Linked DNA regions of Homo sapiens: all the other regions are linked to region 2. The links are contacts of gene promoters, found by promoter capture Hi-C in blood cells and fetal thymus (Javierre and others, 2016). All regions are on one chromosome and are shown on one strand. The core of a region is centred on a gene start or on the middle of the fragment in contact, and the rest is flanking DNA. Distances in the headings are between cores, read along the strand shown. Region 1 overlaps SLC25A13 (solute carrier family 25 member 13). Region 2 holds the start of DLX6 (distal-less homeobox 6). Region 3 overlaps LOC105375410 (a long non-coding RNA gene). Region 4 has its middle 110 kb from the start of SLC25A13. Region 5 overlaps SLC25A13 (solute carrier family 25 member 13). Region 6 holds the start of SLC25A13 (solute carrier family 25 member 13). Region 7 overlaps SLC25A13 (solute carrier family 25 member 13).

Region 1 (2,700 bases), core at 166-2,665, 830 kb before region 2:
CCCAGACCAGTCTCAGATTCCTGGCCTCAAGCAATCCTCCTGCCTAGGCTTTCCAAAATGTTGGGATTGCAGGTGTGAGCCATCTCACCTGTCCTGAGTTTGCAGCCCTTCACTAAGCAACTATAACATCTAAGCCTGCTTCATCCCCAGGGCCACAGCTGACTGGACAATGTAAAACACCTAAAAGACACGCAAATCAAGAGTTCAGCAACCTGAGCCTGCTACCAAAAATAGAGCTGGCCAATTAGGATGCCTTCTCCAGGAGGATGACTGACAGTCTTTAGAGAAGAGGGGACAAGTTAGCACAGAAGCAACAAGATGAAAAGATGTCATGGGTGGAGCAAGGAAAGCAGCCAATTGGAAGTCACGTGTGTGCTAATATCACAAGGAAGCAGAAACCATGAATAAGCAGAGGAAGTGCATTGGTGGACAGATGAGAATGTGGAGCAAAAGGAATAGAGATTAAAAAGAGAATGCACATAGCCCATGAAAGGCACACAGGTGGGAGCGCCTGTCCCCATCACCTTTGGGTCCCACTGAGGCCAGCCTCCAGTGCAGCTCCTGCTCTTGGATCTGAGATTTCTACCTTCTTTCTCTCTTGTGTGAATGTTTATCAAAAGCCCCCCTAAGCTCTTGCTAGCTTGAGTGGGGCTGTGCTCTTTAGAATTTAAATGAGCTGAGGCAGCATATGAGAAAAAACGGGAATATGCAACCATTTGGGCAAAGCAAGCATTCTTATCCAAAGCAAGCATTCTCTCCTAAACTATACTCATGACACTCACTCACTGATCTTTCAGTAAGATATCTATAATAGGAGAAGGCTTGGTTATTACCTAATAAAAGTACAACATTAATTTCTACTAGTAATATGTGGGCATACGCCTGTTTAAACTACCTCTTCACAATTGAAATTTTCATCTTTCTCCCTGTATTCACATCAAGTAACAAAATGCTTAGTTAAACATTTACTTGCTAGATGTATTTTTCTCATCATTAAATTGTAGACCAAAATTGTGGATGGGTTGAAAGCACTGTGATTTAAATGATGAACTCTTGTCTCCATAACTATCCTGTGACAGTCTTTTTAAATGACTAATAAAAAAACAGGCCACAGAGCCTAATGACTACTGTGTTAGATACAATCACTTCAGCCAGCCTTTCAAACTACTGAAATTTATCCTTCTCACCATAAATTTAGTAATGCATTGTGAACGGCAAAAAACAGAAGGGAAAACCCCGTATTTAAGACTACAAAGAAGGCAACAAGTAGCTATTTGTTCAGCAAACATTTACCAAATGCCTTCTCTGTCTGCCTGGTACTGAGAGGAACTGGGATGAACACAGTGAGACTGGTGCCTCCCCGCTAAGAAGCTCAGAGTTTAGAGGGAAAGGGAACGCTAGTTGTCTCCACCTGCCAGATGGGGGACAAACCACCTAACAACAGCAGGTGCTGCATACCAGACCCCAGGGGCATCACAGGACTATGAGAACCCAGTGGAGAGAACCAGTTCTTCTGCCTGCAGGAGGGGAAAAAACATCAAAGAAGAGGAGATATTTGCCCTGGGACTTCAAGGGTGAGCAGAGGTTCCCCGGAAAGATGAGACAATGAGCAGAATGGAGGGCAAGGTGACCCAGGCAGAGGAAACAGTTGGTGTGCAAAGGCACCAACATCTTAAGGCTATGGCATGGAGTCAGGGCACTGGAGGCTGTGCTTGGATCACAGAAGACCAGATAATAAATAACAATATTATTAATAGTAGTGATAATGACAACAGCCAATATTTGGGGAGCACTCGCTATATCCACATACTACAGTACTGTGTGTTTTATGTGAATGAACACATTTAATCCACACAATACCTTACTTAAACAGTGGCTTTTGTTTTATCCACAGCAACTGAAGAAGAAACTGAGGCCGACTTTAAGGGAGCTGCCCATGGTGGCTCAGCTGTTTGATGGGGGAACGGGGTTCCACCCAGGCTGTCCGACTCCAGCCTGTGCTCTTACCTGGTACGCTGCACAACTTCTCTCCCAGGCCCACTAAGGAGCATGCACCAAATTCTGTAGATGCATGGGGTGGCTTTTAGGGTAAAAAGTAAAGTTCAAAAAGTAAAAAGTTCTAGAGGCAGGTGAAGGATAGTTTGCAAGAGCAGAGACCTGAGGAAGCTAGAGAAACTAGGAGTTTAAGGTAATATATTAGAGGCCCCGAGCTTCCTTATATTAAATGATTAACTTCAACTTAGAATAAAACCAAAGCACAAATCCATTCCTAAGACCTAGGCCAGATGCTGCCACTCACGGAAGTTGTTGATAAGAACCATTCTTGTAGTGACTACCTTGTCTGGTTAAACAGGAAAATGAAGGTGACTGGATTATAATCTGAGGCCCACTACAGATGTGGGCCTTGAAAACATGAGTCTTGGGTAAATGGTCTTTGTAAGAAGGTCATGATCTGTGAAACAATGAAAAGTCAAAGAGGTGGGAATTCCAAACTCCCTCCTTGTACCTTGACCTCAGAGGGAGGAGAGGTAGCACAGCCCAGTAATGCCTAAAGCAGAGAGTCTAGGTGAGGCACTTCATCACAACCACAATTAAGTCTAAAGTGCATATATATCTGACATCTGGGTAATTCAGCAGAAAAATCAGGTTTCTAATATAAGATGTTTCTGTTGGGTCCTGGAAATTCACTTTAACCATTTG
Region 2 (2,865 bases), core at 115-2,614:
GCTGCCTTAACCTGCGTGGGTCTGGAGACCGGAGGGAGAAAGGCTAGATCCGCAGCCTTGGGCTGCTCCGAACTTAATGTCTTTCCCCAGTCCATCTTTGAAAGAGAAGTGGTTCTACCACCTGGATGTGCGGATATAAATCCCCTTGCAAATAATAAATGGATTAATAATAACAAGGTATGAAGTTCTTTTTATAGAAAAAAAGGAGAGAATTGAAACTAAATGCGGCAGTTAGACAACCATTTTGATAAGAGGATAATTGAGGCGACACTGGTGTATAATTAGAGGATAATTTATGCTATATCCACTTTTATTCCACCTCCCAAAATAAACCCAGTCCATAATCATTACAGGCAAATTGTTCTGAATTTTATAGCAGCAATTTGAACAAAGTACTGCAGTTAATCATGGGAGATTTTTGTGTATTCCTGATTAGAACTCTAATTGCCTCCTTCCAGAAAGTAAAAATAACTGTAAAACGACTCTATTTTTATCATTAACAATGTTGACAATAAAATAAAATCAATTGGAATTGTAATCGAGAGACAAATTTAGGACGAAGGCACTTTTACTTGGGTAGTTTATATTGTAATCAAGATTTGCCAAACCACTAACCGCATGTATCATTTGCATATATTTGAAAGCATTACAGTAGCTTCTGTTTTCAATAGGAAAAAATGCATTACTGTCAGTCCTCCAACGATTCGTTTTCAGAACACGCTGCTGCGTTCTGAAAAGAAAAAAAAGACGCCCCCCCCCCCCACAACCTTTTGTACAATATATAAGAAATACGGCCTGAAACGGCAGGGACCGAGCCAGAACAGGGTCTGATTTTTCTTTTTCTGTACCACCCCCCAGTGGGGTGGAGCCCAGGTGTGAGGGTTCGTCTTCCTTCTGTGGTTTCAATAAAATACGTCTAGAAAAATCCACGGTGACAAGGAGCTCCCACAAGAGTGTAGTAGGACCAGAGTGGCAGGGACGTCAAGAAAGGGGGGCCTGGATTTAATGCGGGGGTGGGGTCACTGCTTCTAAGCACAGGCAACCTACAAGGGTGCAAAGGGATTGAAAGAGAGCAGCCCCCAGTTGGCTGTTTCAAGGCTGAGATATTGGCAACTGGGGCTCCGGGATTTGGGGCACGAGCTGCGGCGGGAAGCATCGGCGGCCGGCCGGGCAGAGGCGCCTCCCTCCCCAACGGCCCCGGGCGCCACACAGCGCGGCCCCCGGCTGCAGCTCCGGCTGGGATTGGAACTGCGGAAGGTAGGCGAAGAACTCTGCAAGTCGCGCACACGCCAGTAGAAGCCGTGCGCCTGTGACGTCAGGGGGCGACTGACCAATGGGGAGGCACTGCCCTTTGGAGACAAACCATTCGACTCGTGGCGTCTGCATCAAGTCTGAAAGCAGACGCGCAACTTTCGCAGAATCCACCTTAAAATCTCTGCCTTAAACTGCACCAGCCCCCAAAAAATCCAAGGGGGGAAAGCAGGCGGGGGGAGAGCAGATTCCCCCCTCCCCCTCTCCTCTCCCATCCCTCCTCCTTCCTCCTCCCTTTGAGTTAACAAGGCCCCGCTCACTATATCTCTTTATATTAAATATATATATATATTAGAGAAGAGCGAGGGAGAGGGAGAACCACCTCCACCCCCCTCTTTAAATTCTTTTTTTTTTTTTTTTTTTTTTTTGCAAGGATCCAAAGAGCTAAGGTGGCTGCAGAGGGGAGAGCGGCGCGAGCCAAGTGGGGGAGGGTGGAGGAAACCCGGGAGAAGGCTTTCTCCAGCCCCCAAAGTTTTTGATGATGACCATGACTACGATGGCTGACGGCTTGGAAGGCCAGGACTCGTCCAAATCCGCCTTCATGGAGTTCGGGCAGCAGCAGCAGCAGCAGCAGCAACAGCAGCAGCAGCAGCAGCAGCAACAGCAACAGCCGCCGCCGCCGCCGCCGCCGCCGCCGCAGCCGCACTCGCAGCAGAGCTCCCCGGCCATGGCAGGCGCGCACTACCCTCTGCACTGCCTGCACTCGGCGGCGGCGGCGGCAGCGGCCGGCTCGCACCACCACCACCACCACCAGCACCACCACCACGGCTCGCCCTACGCGTCGGGCGGAGGGAACTCCTACAACCACCGCTCGCTCGCCGCCTACCCCTACATGAGCCACTCGCAGCACAGCCCTTACCTCCAGTCCTACCACAACAGCAGCGCAGCCGCCCAGACGCGAGGGGACGACACAGGTGAGAGGCCGCTGGGGCAGCTCGCTTCTCCCGCCTCCCGACTGCCCCCTACCCCGCCCGCCCGCTCACTTCCTCGACGCCCGGGCCTCCGCCGGCCCCCTCCCCCAGGCGGCCCCGCGCGCCCTTGGCCGGGCCCCGTGCGCGCCCGCTCGCCTGGCGCCTGCCTGCCGGCCTCTCCCAGCCGGGCCCCTTCCCGCCGCCGCGGACCCTCAGCTTCCGACGCGCAGTTCGGGCTGAGTCCCGGGCCCGGCGCAGGCTTCGTTCGACGAGTTAGTCCACACTGCGCTCTCCAGCCTCCTGGGTCTGTGCGCCCTTTTCCTTGCTCCTTCCCTCCAGGCTGTAACCCACGTTTGACCCGGCTGGGGACATTTCTGGGCCGGAACTGGGGAGCGTGTTTTGCTTCCCAGCCCACGCTGGGCAGGCAGTGGCCTACTTTGCGTGGGGCGCCCCGTGCTCCTCAGTGACTCGGAGGGAAGCTGGCCTGGCTTTCGCTCTGGTTAAACTAGTAACAGTCAGGCTCTTTCCAGTGGGCTTTAAAGTGTCCCTCACCTTCATCCCTGACCGGGCCCCCTATCTAGCTTTTCGCTACAGTGTTGGCTGCTCCTTTGTTCGTGGAGGGGAAGCAAAGAACCTCGGGCTG
Region 3 (2,851 bases), core at 257-2,756, 590 kb before region 2:
GGCCTGGCACGGTGGCTCAGGCCTGTAATCTGAACACTTTGGGAGGCTGAGGCATGCAGATCACTTGAGGTCAGGAGTTGGAGACCAGCCTGGACAACATGGCAAAACCCCGTCTCTACTAAAAATACAAAAATCAGCAGGGCATGGTAGTGCACGCCTGTAATCCTAGCTACTAGAGAGGCTGAGGCAGGAGAATTGCTTGAACCCAGGGGACAGAGGTTGCAATGAGTCGAGATCATGCCACTGTACTCCAGCCTGGGTGACAGAGCGAGACTCTGTCTGAAAAAAACAAAACAAAACAAAACAAAATTAAAAAAAAAAACACACAACATATAAAGTAGAAGGATAAATTCACCTGTAGTCCTAGCCACAAATAACTGCTGTTAACATTTTGACATATTTCTTTGAAGCTTTCTCTATGCATATACTCTCTTTACCGTAATAGAAAACCATTTTTGAGCTGCTTTGCCTATTGAGTAGCCATTCATTTATTCCTTTACCTCCTTAATAAACTTGCTTTCACTTTACTAAAAAAAAAACCGTTAAAAAATGGCTCATACATTTGAAAAAATGGCTTCATAGCTTGTGTAACTATATAGATAGTGAAAATACACACATTATTATTATTCATAGAGAAAAATAGATTTTATAATTTTTTTTTTGAGACGGAGTCTCACTCTGTCACTAGGCTGGAGTGCAGTGGCGCAATCTCAGCTCACTGCAACCTCTGCCTCCCAGGTTCAAGCGATTCTCCTGCCTCAGTCTCCAGAGTAGCTGGGACTACAGGTGTGTACCACTACACCCAGCTAATTTTTTTTTTTTTTTGTATTGTTAGTAGAGACAGGATTTCACAATGTTGGCTAGGATGGTCTCAATCTCTTGACCTTGTGATCTGCCCGCCTTGGGCTCCCAGAGTGCTGGGGTTACAGGCGTGAGCCACAGCACCCAGCCAAGATTCACTTTTATAAACAACAATGTGATGAACATCTATGTGCAAATATTTTAGTGTATGCATCCAATAATTTCTATTGATGATATTCCTTAAAGTGAACACCTTAGTCAAATTATACACACATTTTAATTTTTAATATTGGCCATCAGAAAGGTTGGTACAATCTATATTAGTAAAATGTGTTATCTGGCATGGAAATACAGAGAGGGTTTTGGGTTCTACTAGAAATCAGAATGGCACTGCCTATTATAAATCCTTGTTTATTGACTTTAAAATGCTTGGTCTTTGTTGGTAAAGGCCCAAACTGAATGCTCTGAAAGAATAGTTATTGACTAGAAAGACTCCTTGAAGAAAAATGTTTAGACAGCCACGTAATTGGATTCCCAGCTGGAATAGTGGGTTTCTAAGATTCACGACTATTTTAAAATTCAAGGAATACAGATCCCTTATCCTTGTTCATTGGGAATAATTTCCTCTGTCCCATTTTTAGGGGGCTTTAAATATTCACATGACTTATATTTGAAAATATGATTGGATACAGACAAAAGTAGAGTAAAATTGATGTATAGCAGTAAAATGGTTAAGCAGGAAACAATTACACCACAACCTATCCCTCTTCAGTTACAGTAGGCTCAAGAATGACTTGCCCCTGAAGGATGAAATTAAGTTGTTTAAGACCCTCACTTTGATTTTACTCAAGCAGCTAAGGAAGAAGTACTATTATTTTTGTACTGAAAATTGATGTACAGCACTGCACAAGGCTGGTCTGTCACTTGTGGTGACAGCACAGACAACGGGCCAGTTTGATCTCTAAAAAGTTAAGGTTGCAGGCAGGAGTCAGCATGGATGATACAGTTGCTATTCCAGATTCTGGGACACAGACACTCCAGGCAAGGAGGAAAACGAATTCTATGAAATATGGTAGGGGTAGTTTCAGCAGAAACTGTTCTATGTAATAAACACTGTTTGAGATACGTGGGTGACTGTTTCTTATTTCTAGAAACACTGCTGTCATTACCTCAAAATTTTATATGCTTTGCAGAAATTGGAAATATAAACCAAGGACTTCCAGTTTAACTTGAAACTTGTGACTCTTTTAATGATGGAAGTCAGTAAACATATTCACGAATAGCTACCCACAAATATTCAAACCACCCATCATTCTCTACTGAATACATGTAAAAGACAACAGATAAAGCCCAAGAAGTTGCTTTGTGACTGTAGATACATGCACTGTGAGTTATTAACACATTTAATGAAAAACTGAAGAGACTATGGCTCACTTGAAACAACCTATCAATCTGGAATTGCTTATAATGGGAAAGAAATATTTATAAATAGAATTAGACTTGGGCTTCAAGAAAACACATGCTATTATAAGGAAGAAATTGATTAATTATTGCTCTCTCTCCTTACTCCACCTCCTCTCCCCTTCTCCACCTCCTGGGATACAGGTTTAAGTTTAATCTGGGGCTTTAAATTAGCATTAGAAAAAACTTTTTGATGATGTGTACATTTTAACTACTAGGATGGGACTACAACAAAATATATAAACTCATTTCCCTAGACAATTTTAAACGATGAGATTGGTATAATTGGTGTGGGTTGGTTTGGCTTTGCTTAAAAAAGAGAGATGAATGAGGGGATTCCAAAAGCTTTTTCAGTCCCTTGAGTTTGTGACTGTACTTTGGGCTTTGCCTCATTGGACTGTTAGAAAGCCCTGGGCCACTAGTGATCACCTGTCATCCTGACGATAATCTCCACTGAGGAGAATGTTTGTTCTAATAATGAATACATAGGGCTCAGTTTCTACTTTCCTTAATTTTCCCAACAGCTACAGAGAGGTCTCTTGGTTCCTTAATAATATTATTTATTTTCTCTTCCTGGTGATATTACTGT
Region 4 (2,730 bases), core at 57-2,556, 570 kb before region 2:
GTAACTCACTTTGTAAAATGGATTATAGAATTCTGTTTGTTCTAATAAATTAAATATTAATTTTAGAAATTTTTAAAGACTATTGTCACACTAGTTCTGAATCTATCCTCCAGAAAGGCAATGCTAGGGATCAGAACTTTTTAATCCTTCATTTATTTTTGTGCTAGAAAACTAACATAGTTTTATGTACTGACGTTTAAAGTTTGAATGGCACATTAGTGTGATTTTCAAGATTTCAACATAAGCATCTATTTCATATTTTTAAAAAGACTGTAAAATTACTTCTCCTTTTGGGTATGATGTATTCTCATTGCAGCTTGGAGTTTCTGTTTAAAAAAGTCTTTTGTAGAATTCATGTGCCAAATATCAAACGAGGTGTCAAACTTTGTAAAAATACAAAGAAATTAGTGCTTTCAATTTTATTAGCATATAGAAGCAGAAATCCTGTGGCATGCATTTGAATAGTAAAAACTTTACAGAGGTATTTATGCAAGAGACATTTATCAACTCTCTAGAATGTACAAATCATCAGGCTGGGTGCTGTGAGAGATTACTTCTACTTAAAGCTTATTATGATCGAGTACATCAGGGGTCAACAACATTTTTTGTAAAGGGGCAGATGGTGAATATTTTTTGCTTTGCAGGCCATGTAATCTCTGTACTCAGAGCTGGTACTGTAGAATGAAAGCAAGCGTAGACAGTATGTTGTAAGAGAATGACAGTAACCATAAACTAATACAGCTTTCTGAGTGGACACTGAAACTTAAGTGTCAAACTATTTTCATGTCTCACAAACTATTATTCTTGTTTTAACTTTTTTCAACCATTTAAAATGTAAAAAACAATTCTTAGTTTGTGGGCCACACAAAAACAAGCAGTGGGCCAAATTTGGCCTGCAGGACATAGTTTACTGACCTCTGTAGTAGATGTGTATTGAAACAAAGTAGAACACATGGGATAACATGGCATGATGGCGGGAACATACACTGTGAGAGTATAAAATAGGACAAATTAATTAGGAAAGGCTGTAATGCTAATATCTTATGGAGATGATAATTTTGTTTCCATTTTTTCTGAAATGAGATTCATATAACATAAAATTTACCATTTAAAAATGAACAGTGGCACTTAGTATTTTCACAGTGTTGTGCAACTGCCACATTTACCTAGTTCTAAAACATTTCCATCAGACGGAATTATCCCAAAGGAAAACCCTGTACCCATTTGGCAGTTGCTCCCCATTCCTGTCCCCCCACCAGTTGCTGGCAACTACCAATCTGCTTTCTGTTGCTACGAATTTACCTATTCTGAATATATAATATTTCATATAAATGGAATCATACAATATGTGATCTTTTGTGTCTGGCTTCTTTCATTTAACATAATGCTTTATAGATTCATTGATGTAGCATCTATCAGCACTTCATTTTTTCTGGCTGAGTCATATTCCCCTGTATGCGTATACCACATTTTGTCTGCCCATTCATGAGTTGATGGAAATTTGGCTTTTTTCAAAAGTTCCCCTATGAACATGCATGTACATTTATGCAGTTTTCAATTCTTTTTGATATATACCCAGAAGTGAAAATGCTGGGTCAAATGGTAATTCTATGTTTCATGTTTTGAGGAATCACAAAAGTGTTTTCTGCAATAGCTGAACCATGTTGCATTCCCTCGCAACATATAAAAGTTTCAATTTCTCCACCTCCACAAGAGGAATTGTTATTTTTATTTTTTGAAATTATAGCTATCCTAGTGGGTGCAAAGTGGTATTTCACCGTGGTTTTGATTTGCATTTTCCTGATGGTTAGTGATGTTGGGCATTTTGTATATGTTTGTTGGTCATTCTATATCTTCTTTTGAGAAATGTCTATTCAAATCTTTTGCCCATTTTAAAATTGGATTATTTGGTTTCTTTGCTATTAAGTTGTTTGAATTCCTTATGTATTATGGATATTAACCCCTTGCCAGGTGCATAGTTCGCAAATATTTTCTCCCATTCTGTACATTGTCTCTTCACTCTGTTAATTGTTTCATTTGCTGTACAGAAGCTTTTTAGTTTGATGCAATCCCATTTGTCTATTTTTGCTTTTGTTGTCTGTGCTTTTGAAGTTCTATCCAAAAAGTCCTTGCCCAGACTAATGTCATGAAATAGTTCCCTTACATTTTCATATAGTAGTTTCATAATTTCAGGTATTGTATTTAAGCCTTAATCCATTTTGAGTTGATTTTTTGTACATGGTGAGAGATGGGGGTCTATTTTCTTTTTCTTTTTTCTTTTTTTTTTTGCATTTGTATATTCTGTTTCCCTAGCACCATTTATTGAAGACGCTGTCTTTTCCTCAATGTGTGTTCTTGGAACCTTTGTTGAAAATCAGTTGGCTGTAAATGGATGGATTTATTTTTGGGTTTCTATTCTGTTCTGTTGGTCTATGTGTTATGTGTTTGTTTTTATGCCAGAACCATGCTGTTTTGGTTACTATAGTTTTGTAGTGTATCTTGAAGTCACATAGTGTGATGCCTCCAGCTTTGTTCCTTTTGCTCAAGATTGTTTTGGCTACTCAGGGTTTTTTGTGGTTTCACATGAAGCTTAGAATTTTTTTTTCTATTTCTATGAAGAATGTCATTGGTATTTTGATAGGGATTGCCCTGAATCTGTAGCTCACTATGGGTAGTATGGAGTCTTTTTACTCTTTTGATGGTGTTCTTTGATATATGAAGGTTTTTTAA
Region 5 (2,930 bases), core at 2-2,501, 770 kb before region 2:
ATGATTTAACCTTTAATTCTGTCATGCCAAATGAGTATGACGGAATGGCGAAGGGGGTTGGCACAATAAATCTATTATACTATCTTACCAATACTTTATCTAATTATTATATTCACTTCTTGATAAGATAAATGAGGACTGGAGAGGATCACTAATTTGGCTCAGAGACAACAGCAGCAGAGCTGGAAGGGGCTAAGCTTATCTGATTCTGGAAGCAACACTGTTACACCATCTGTATTTTTCCCATATCTGTATGTTTTCCACAATACATCAAATAAGACAAGTCCCAAAGGTCTGAATGAATTAGAAACTATGAATAGAGACACTTAAAATGGGCACATGCCAAGCACAAGACAGGCAGAAGTCCTGTCTGGGTCTCACGTTCTATGACGCTATGAAAACAGTCATGCCACATTCTCCCTAATCTTTAAAGCCATCTCTCATGAAAGCACAATCCACATGCCTAAAGGGCTCCAAAATTCTTCATGAGCAATGCTACTGCAGATTTGCATGCAGAGACAACATATGCTGGACACCACAGAGTCCAAGGGAAACATGGTACTTTCCGTTAAATCTGTCCTTAGTAGCCAGTTTTTTAAAAAATAACTTACCACTGTCCCACCACTTCCAAGCCTTCCCTTTCTTCTAAGAATTTGAAAAACATCAGGGTTTTCTGCAGCTTTGTAGCTAATTCCCATGATGATGTTTGTGCCTTGCAAAATAAAGAAGGCCACAGGAGAGCAGACACTGCCAGCACAGCAGTCAGGTCGGGGGAGCGGGGGTTGTTTAGAACAAGGTCCTTCATGTACCATTCTGAACCACCATCTTGTGCAGCAGCTCTGGCCGCAAACTACTCCATGGGAACAACGTGAAGACAAGAAGTATAGGGTGCATAAGTAACTTCTGTGTGTAGGCAGATTATTCACTTCTTCGTTCTATCAGTGGAAAGCACTACTGATGATGCAGGGAAGAAACAGAAGTCCTGTCTGGCTCTCACATGCTATGACTCTATGAAAACAGTCATGCCACATCTCCCTCACCTTAAAACTAAATCAGAGTATCAAAACTACTAAGCCAGAAACTTGTTTTTTTCGAATAGGAAGATGTTTGAACTGGAGCTCCAAAACATTGAAGTATCTTTACTAAAAGGGATATACTATCTTCTATAAAGAATTTCCATACACTTTATTTTGTTCCTAGAAAAAAAAAAAAGAAAATGCTCACACAAGTCCACACTTACACAGACGTGCACAGAAGCATGCTTCTTACCAAAAGTTACTTCTCCTTTGCCAGCTTTGTCAAACAGCTGAAAGGCTACCATAAACAAAGCATCAGGGGCACACAGGACAGATTCAAAGGCAACAAATTCTTGAAAAGATATTAATCTGCAACATAAAACAAACATAAAGCAAAAGTCAGTAGCTTGTGGAAAACAGAAGCATATACAAACATACACTGAGGGAAAAAATAAGATATCACTGCCAAAACATAAAATTCAAACTGAAAACATTTATAAACATTTAGCATTTACTTTTACATATAGTGGACTGAAATAATAATGCACAGAATCTAAAAGACATGACAGCATTGACCATGAAGTTACACACTAAATACATTATAATTTCAAATATAACTGTTTTATCCAGCATCATATATGTTTCAGTCTTCCTTCAGGCATGTTTTTGGGTTCTATAATAAAAGTGCAGATACTTTAGACTAAGATGTGACTGCCTAACAGCAAAATAGAGCAACTTTGTTATGCATTAGTATCCTTATACACCATGCAAAAAACGGTTCACAGATATTGATTCACTACTGGTATTTACTGACCACCTGTGAATTGACCTAGGGCTAGTACAAGGGGAATACAGATAAATGATACATGAAACATGACCCCAAGGGACTTCTAGTCTAGTGAGGCAGACAGCACTGGTCTAGAAACAGACTAGTGTATAGAGGAAGGACAAATCATAACACAAGAACTAGTATGGTAATAAAAGTCTTTGTGGCAGAAATGGCATTTGAGCTAGGCCTTAAAAAATGAGTACAACTTGGATATGCGGTAATGGGTGTAGACTAGAGGGCACTTCAGGCAGAAGGCTAATGCAAGAAAGCTAAGGAGTGTACAGGGAAACTGATGAGTGACAGATTTTGTCTGGACAGTGGAGTGCATAAAAGAACAATGTAAAATAAGATTAGAAATATAGGACCAGAGGTGGCCTTGAAGAAAGAAAAGGGCCTGGTCATTCTTCTCTAGGAAAAAGGAGTGACTTTAACTTTCCGAAGGTCAAAATGTGGGTCAAATCTAAGCTTTAGGAAGAACATGAGAGGCCAAGGACGTTTTGACTTCCAAAGAGGAAATGGGTCCATAAAAGCTTTCCTAGATTTTATTTTTTAACAACTGCTATTTTAAGTATCCAAATACTTTAATGATACATTGAGATACTCCAAGTTTCCGGAGGATATGGAAGGAGGAAGAAAATAGGAATGGTTTTCATATATTTTACAGAAAACTTAGTTACTTCTAAACATCCTATAGAGAGAACACATTTTTATAAAAACTGTTACAAAGTGAACTTAGCTGTTTCCCAGAATGTCACCCAATTACAATAATGCTACAAAGAAAGGAAAAACGCAGTGTGTTCAATATAGCATCTCTGTATCATTAACCATCCAAAACACATGCTTCTCAATGCCTGGGAACACTCAGGAAGAGCATGTGTTACAGGGGAGTACTTCCCAAGGACATTTTATCCTCTACTAAGGTCTCTCTCACCGAGACTCTGCGTAGGAGGCAAGAAGGGGGGCAAATATGAGTCAAGCATTCCTGGCTGAACTCCAGGAGCTTACCACCAGCTGTTTGGAGGAAGGGGAGATAGTCATGAGCACACATAACCACTAGAAATTAAGAGTTAACTGTAAAAGAAAAA
Region 6 (2,973 bases), core at 259-2,758, 680 kb before region 2:
TGCTCAGAGAAACTGCTGAAAAGTTATAGATAGATATACACACGCACACCTGTGTGTTCATATGCAAACATACATGAGCCCACACACCCAGAGTACTTTCCTAAGGATGAAACTCAGAGTAATTACAGAAAAGAGAAATGCCACTTAGACCACAGAAACTAACAACATGAAGAAGCCTACGGATTTGGGGAGCCTGGAGAGACTTAAGTCATAGAACAGCATTTAAATATATTTGTCTGCTTACAATTTCCATTGCAAATGTGATTAGTTTGCTTGAATAAATAGGAATATGATGTGTTGGCCATGTTTTCCTCTTGAGGGTTATCACAGAGTTTTGATTAAGGACAAATGTTTGAAATGTTAGGTATATTTAAGTTCACTGCACTTAAAATGAGCTAAGAAGTTGTATAGGCTTGATTAGAGGGCTGCCTTCGTGAACTTAAATTAAAAGCAATAAATTCCAAATGATTCAAGTGATTGGGACTAAATATGGTATTCTGCCAGAGAAGTTGAAATGCAGTCCAAAGAGACTGAAATGGTGTCCAGGTTTCAAGAAATGGTGAAAGAGGAAAGGTCAAGTGTTGGAGTTGCCTTTCCTCTGGGTTAGTGAATGATTCACATTACACAGAACCCCTTTCAAGTACAACTTCACAGGAGTGACAGGCTCCCAGGACAATCTGTTTCATCGTTCCCAAAAAGAAGCCTCTCAAATGCTCCGAGGCGGGTATCTAAGTGTTGTCAGATGGAGAGAGGGAGGGGGAAGATGGGAATGATGGGAAAGCGGGGAGGGGGAGAGTCCCTGGACTTTTTATTCACAAAGGCGCAGACCAAGTCTCCTAGGCAGTTTCCAAAACGGAAGTCAAAGTAACTTCCCCACCCGCGGGAGGGCGGAGCCCTTGAAACGTAATAGGATCAGGCTTCAGCCCGGGCTCTGGCCCCTGGAAGAAGCCGGAGTCAACAACCAGCGGGGTCAGGAGCAGGAGCGCGCTGGGAAGGTAGAGAGGACCCCCAGCGCTTGCCGGCCCAGGGTGCACCAGGCCCCAGTCGCGCCCGCTCCTCCTCGTCGGCCCTGGCTCAGCCCCGTCAGGCACCAACTTCCCTCCCCGGCCAAGTGGGAGTGTCCGGCCCACAAAGTTTCCGCTGCGAGGTCGGGCCTCGGTCTCTGCACCGACCGCCTGTGCTGCCCGGGAGGAGTGGCCCCCTCCCTCCAGCAGCCGCAAGGTGGAACGGCTGCCCGGCACCCCATTTTGCTCCGCCTGTGGCACCAACCCAGACACGTGAGCGCCCGAGCCTCTCGCACCCCCAGGCTGATCCGGCAGGCGCGCTCCCCCCGGCCTCGGGCCCGCGGTTACCTTGGCGGCCGCCATGATTCGCCCCGGTTGCGGGCGACTGCGGGACCCACTGACTGGCTGGCTGGCGTTTGGGACCCGGGCGGCTCACTTCTAGTCCCGGCGGCGGCGGCGGTGGGGGCGGCGATACGGCCAGGCAGCGTGCGTTCCTGGCCTGCCTCCCCACGCCCTCCCGCCGGCGCGGGTCATGTGGATGCTGCCCGCCCATTGGCTGGGCCCAGCCTTGGCCGCCGGGGTGCGCGTGATCCAGCGGCCTCTGCCCTGCAGCCGGGGAGGGCTCAGATCCTGGGGCAGTGGCTGGACAGGGACACGTGACCCCGCTGCGCTGTCCAGCAGCGGCGGCCTCTGCGGCGTGGGCAGAGGTAACTTGGCCGTGTGCAAGCCCGTCACCTGAGGGCAGGTGGCCCCACCAGGGAAGCTGCTGGCTTCTGCTGATACCAGGGGCTACTGGGCCCTCGGACCGATGGGAGGGGCAAGTAACGACAGATGGTGCACGGCCTGGGGAAGTTGAGAACTCCACTAGGACACATACTTTGCTGGATATTTTTTCCCCTGTGCGTTCCCTTTGAAGGAGCTCCACTTTACACTGGATCCAAAAAGACTTTGATCCAAAAGCATTGACTTAGAAGGCGAGATTGCAAATATTGCTGGCACGCCTACTTTTAGATCAAAATCGGTGAACTCTTAAGAACCCAACAAGTGAATGTAGTGCAGAACGTATATTCATGAAACTACTCCATTTCAGCCCTACCTGTTAAAACGGTAGAAGTCAAAAGGCCCGGGTCAAAAGACTTCCCCCAAATAGGCCCTACTAAAATAAATAAACAAGCATTTTAATGAAAATTTGCTTATATGACCTCCAGGCCTTACTCCTCTTCATCAGGATTTCATTCTTCTGTCCTTGTAATCAAAATTTATAAGACAGTGGTGATCAGGGAAAAGGACTTTTAATGTATTGTAGGTTGTGGATGTAATATGGCAGCAAAAAGCACTTATTACTAATCAGTTTAATTCATTAACGTTGATTGAGTGCCTTCCTACTATGTGCTAGGCACTGTGCTTGGTGCTGGAAACCCCGAAATGACTTAAGAACTGGTTCCAACCGTTAAACAGCTTCAGGGCTATTGGGAAAGAGACACATAAATGTTTACTTCAGTATAACCTGTTAAGGCAGCAGACTGTTCCCAGGGCTCAATAAGAATACTGAGAATTCTCATGCCACTATGAAGAAATACCTGAGACTGGGTAATTTATAAACCAAAAGATTTAATTGACTCAGTTTCGCATGGTTTGGGAGACCTCAGGAAACTTACAGTTGTGGTGGAAGGCACCTCTTTACAGGGTTGCAGGAGAGAGAATGAGTGCCAAGCAAAGGGGGGAAAGCCCCTTGTAAAACCATCAGATCTCATAAGAACTCACTATCACAAGAACAGCATGGGAGTAACCGCCCCCATGATTCCGTTGTCTCTCACCGGGTCCTTCCCATGACATGTGGGGATTATGGGAACTACAATTTAAGATGAGATTTGGGTAGTGACACGGTCAAACCATATCAAAAGGTAACTTGATCTTGAGCTATGGGATTGGGGCAGTGGCACGACTAGTGGAAGGAGTCTGGCCCAGC
Region 7 (2,738 bases), core at 239-2,738, 790 kb before region 2:
GGGCCACTGAATGTGCTGGTCCTGGCTTAGGATCTCTTTTTAGCCTCTACAGAAAAACTGTAAGAGGACTGACAGAGAAAAAACAAACAAACAAGAAAAAAACATGAAAAACCTTACTTTTCTAAAGCTTCTATTTTTATTTTTAGCCTCCTCCTCTTGATAAAAGTATGTGTTTGGAGAATGGAGGAAATACAAATTATTAGCATATTAATAATTTTTCCTGGCTTTCACATCTTTAAATATATCTACCAAACCTGCTCATTTCTATGAGCAAACTGTGCTTGATACCTTTTTTTCTCTTTTGCTTCTATTTAAAACAAAAAAAGAAGAAGAAAGTTATTTAGTCCTCTGAAAAGTGCCAAAACCTTTGGCATAATGTGTCTATGGTTTCCCCTCAAATTTCCTGCTCCCACCCCCATTATACCCACAGTTTTTATTCCACGTTTTTAAAGTTTCCAGAAATTTTTAAAGCCTTGTCATGAAGAAACAGTAGTGCCACCATTAGCATAAGGTTAGGTGTGTATTTGCACAGAGAAGGCAGTAAAAAATCAGGATTATGCTGGGCATAAATTTTATAAAACATGGCAGAAATCCTCAGACTGGCCCTGATGAGGACAATAAAAGTTTTAAAGTACAAGTACTGAATTTATTCTGTCTTCTTTACTTTTAGGGAAAAAAGAGATAAGATATAAGGAAAATGAAGTGAATCCAGAATTAGGATTTAAAGGAAAAACAAACAAACAAAAAAGATTCTCAGTGAGTCTGACCAGGGGTCAATAAAAGGAATTAAGTAGAAGATTTCTGAGAAGAAATCACCAAACTGAAATTCAAATGACTTGGATTCAAATTCTACTAACAGCAGCTAAAATTTCTTGGGCACTCACCATGTGCCAAGTATTGTTCTAATGGCTGTAAGTCCCTTAATATCTTAAAACATGACTTTCTTCAGTGCAAAACATATTAACCGAGATAATCTGTGACTCCTTTCCAGGTGTAAGTGTCTGTATCTCTGTAGGAAGCAGGCCCAATAAAGTTTTAATAAAGGCTCCCATAACCTTCTAATCTAGATGAATAAATTATCTAATGAAAATAATGCTCAAATGATAAAGATGTGACCAAAAGAAAAAAAATTCACACTGTAAATAAAATTTTATACTAGAATAAAATTTTAGAGAAATAATATGCAAGAAAAAATGGTTTTCTGGTTTATCCTCAGTTAACTTAAAAATTCCTTTCTGCCAAGCATTCCAGTGAAATAAAGTTTTAACGTAATAATCATAGGATAATTGTCAAAAATAAGATTTTTCCCCTTCTTGATCTCTCCTTCAATCTCTGTTTCCCATAGAAAGTAACAGAAGGTTTTTACTAAATAGCTGGTATGTAAAGCTAAGGCACTTATTATCCATTTTTATATTTATATGGTCTAAAATTATAAATATACATGAAAGTAGGTTTAAGTTTTTCTAAAATTAGTGAATGCATGTAAAATGTGTCTCACCATAAACAACAATCTTATTTATCTATAATTAAAGTAACTACCATTTACTTCTTACTAGAGCTCACATTTGAATCCGAAACTCTAAACGCTATAGTTTTTTGGACTACACCATAGACTGTGTGTGTGCCTCTATGAAATGCCTGGCTGATGTACTGAAATCTCCTCTGCAGGATAGAGCTATACATTATCCCTAAGATATCTCTCAGATCTAAAATCTGACAATCCTATAGGCCTGTACTACCAATAATGATTTGTTTGAAAAAAGATCTCTCTATAAATCTTCTAGAGTATACTATACTAGATGTATATAAAAGATCTCTATATGATGTAATATAAATCATTACATAGTATGCATATGTATGCACATATTAATGTGTTTGTGCATATTTATTGCACGTCTTTTATTTCCTAATTGATTATTAGCCCCTTCACAGCAAAGACCCCATTCTTCGCATCTGATTCTACCACTATGGCTGGCACAGTGGTAGGCAGAGAGCAACTGCTCACTAAGTAGTTGCTGAATTTAAATGAGCCAGAAAAGGTTTACAACAGATAATGCAACAGGTTAAGGACAGCGGTATTAACCCTTTGGGGCACTACAGTTTCCCTTGCTGAGAAACTATTCAACAGTCATTTCTCACCACTTCAGTGCACTGCATACAAATCATCAGTCAACATCGTTTATCAAAATCCCCAGGCCCGGTCCTAAACTGATTTAAACATGTTGAGGGGCTGAAAAAACTGCATTTTAGCCAGCACTCCAGGTTTTCCTGATGCAAGGGTCCAGGACCTCATTCTGAAAGCATTATCAGGGAGTATGGAAGGGTTAGATTCACTCCTAATTTTTAACTTCTCATTGAAATGGATAAAAATTTAAAAGGAAGGAGGTAGAGAAGACTCTCCAGACCAAGCAGTGTAATGCAGGAATGTGTAAACACAGATCATGTGTGACCTAGGTCATTCAGGGCTCCCATGCTGCACAACTCTAGTGGATGGCATTCACTTCATGGTCCATGTGACTGGTGCCTCCTGGAGTTGGGGAGTGTATCAAACACATGACCCTGAGGATGTAGGCCCATTATTAGCTTTGTGGCTGTTCCAATATACTGGCTATTGTAGGAATGTCAGGGCTTAGCTAGCTAGCTAGCAACCTTCTAAGTAGCACAGCTTGGGAGCACTGTACTAGGTCCTGTGGGAAGAGGAAGGGTAGTAAAAGGTATGAGGCTACATCCAAGTCTAA

Evidence for each region. Contacts are between HindIII fragments. The CHiCAGO score rates a contact against its expected background, and 5 or more counts as called.
Region 1: a fragment that was not itself captured here is called in contact with the fragment with the promoter of DLX6 in region 2 in 1 of 17 cell types (total CD8 T cells); the score reaches 5.7 in total CD8 T cells.
Region 3: a contact is called between a fragment that was not itself captured here and the fragment with the promoter of DLX6 in region 2, in 3 of 17 cell types (M0 macrophages, M2 macrophages and M1 macrophages). The highest score is 8.4, in M0 macrophages.
Region 4: a contact is called between a fragment that was not itself captured here and the fragment with the promoter of DLX6 in region 2, in 2 of 17 cell types (M2 macrophages and M1 macrophages). The highest score is 5.4, in M2 macrophages.
Region 5: a contact is called between a fragment that was not itself captured here and the fragment with the promoter of DLX6 in region 2, in 1 of 17 cell types (naive CD4 T cells). The highest score is 5.1, in naive CD4 T cells.
Region 6: a contact is called between the fragment with the promoter of SLC25A13 here and the fragment with the promoter of DLX6 in region 2, in 1 of 17 cell types (endothelial precursors). The highest score is 5.4, in endothelial precursors.
Region 7: a contact is called between a fragment that was not itself captured here and the fragment with the promoter of DLX6 in region 2, in 1 of 17 cell types (naive CD4 T cells). The highest score is 5.2, in naive CD4 T cells.

The regions. Positions count from the first base shown.
Region 1 is chr7:96,173,621-96,176,320 of GRCh38, forward strand. The region is part of intron 11 of SLC25A13 (solute carrier family 25 member 13); the gene reads right to left. Among named protein-coding and RNA genes, the nearest start is that of MIR591, 45 kb to the right of the region's middle. The HindIII fragment of the contact is 3,254 bases long and covers 1-2,700 here.
Region 2 is chr7:97,004,189-97,007,053 of GRCh38, forward strand. DLX6 (distal-less homeobox 6) reads left to right here and starts at 1,365. Exons shown (of 3, transcript NM_005222.4): 1 at 1,365-2,225. The coding sequence starts at 1,790. All of the region lies in intron 1 of DLX6-AS1 (DLX6 antisense RNA 1), which reads right to left. RefSeq lists an enhancer at 82-803 and a silencer at 2,116-2,215. The HindIII fragment of the contact is 12,379 bases long and covers 1-2,865 here.
Region 3 is chr7:96,411,341-96,414,191 of GRCh38, forward strand. The region is part of intron 3 of LOC105375410 (a long non-coding RNA gene); the gene reads left to right. Among named protein-coding and RNA genes, the nearest start is that of SLC25A13, 91 kb to the left of the region's middle. The HindIII fragment of the contact is 2,197 bases long and covers 409-2,605 here.
Region 4 is chr7:96,432,878-96,435,607 of GRCh38, forward strand. It overlaps a transcript of LOC105375410 not described here. Among named protein-coding and RNA genes, the nearest start is that of SLC25A13, 110 kb to the left of the region's middle. The HindIII fragment of the contact is 1,485 bases long and covers 565-2,049 here.
Region 5 is chr7:96,233,533-96,236,462 of GRCh38, forward strand. It overlaps SLC25A13 (solute carrier family 25 member 13), which reads right to left. Exons shown (of 18, transcript NM_014251.3): 4 at 1,270-1,385. Among named protein-coding and RNA genes, the nearest start is that of MIR591, 15 kb to the left of the region's middle. The HindIII fragment of the contact is 2,113 bases long and covers 196-2,308 here.
Region 6 is chr7:96,320,590-96,323,562 of GRCh38, forward strand. SLC25A13 (solute carrier family 25 member 13) reads right to left here and starts at 1,509. Exons shown (of 18, transcript NM_014251.3): 1 at 1,353-1,509. The coding sequence starts at 1,367. RefSeq lists a silencer at 1,305-1,644. The HindIII fragment of the contact is 9,010 bases long and covers 1-2,973 here.
Region 7 is chr7:96,209,653-96,212,390 of GRCh38, forward strand. The region is part of intron 4 of SLC25A13 (solute carrier family 25 member 13); the gene reads right to left. Among named protein-coding and RNA genes, the nearest start is that of MIR591, 8.7 kb to the right of the region's middle. The HindIII fragment of the contact is 2,726 bases long and covers 126-2,738 here.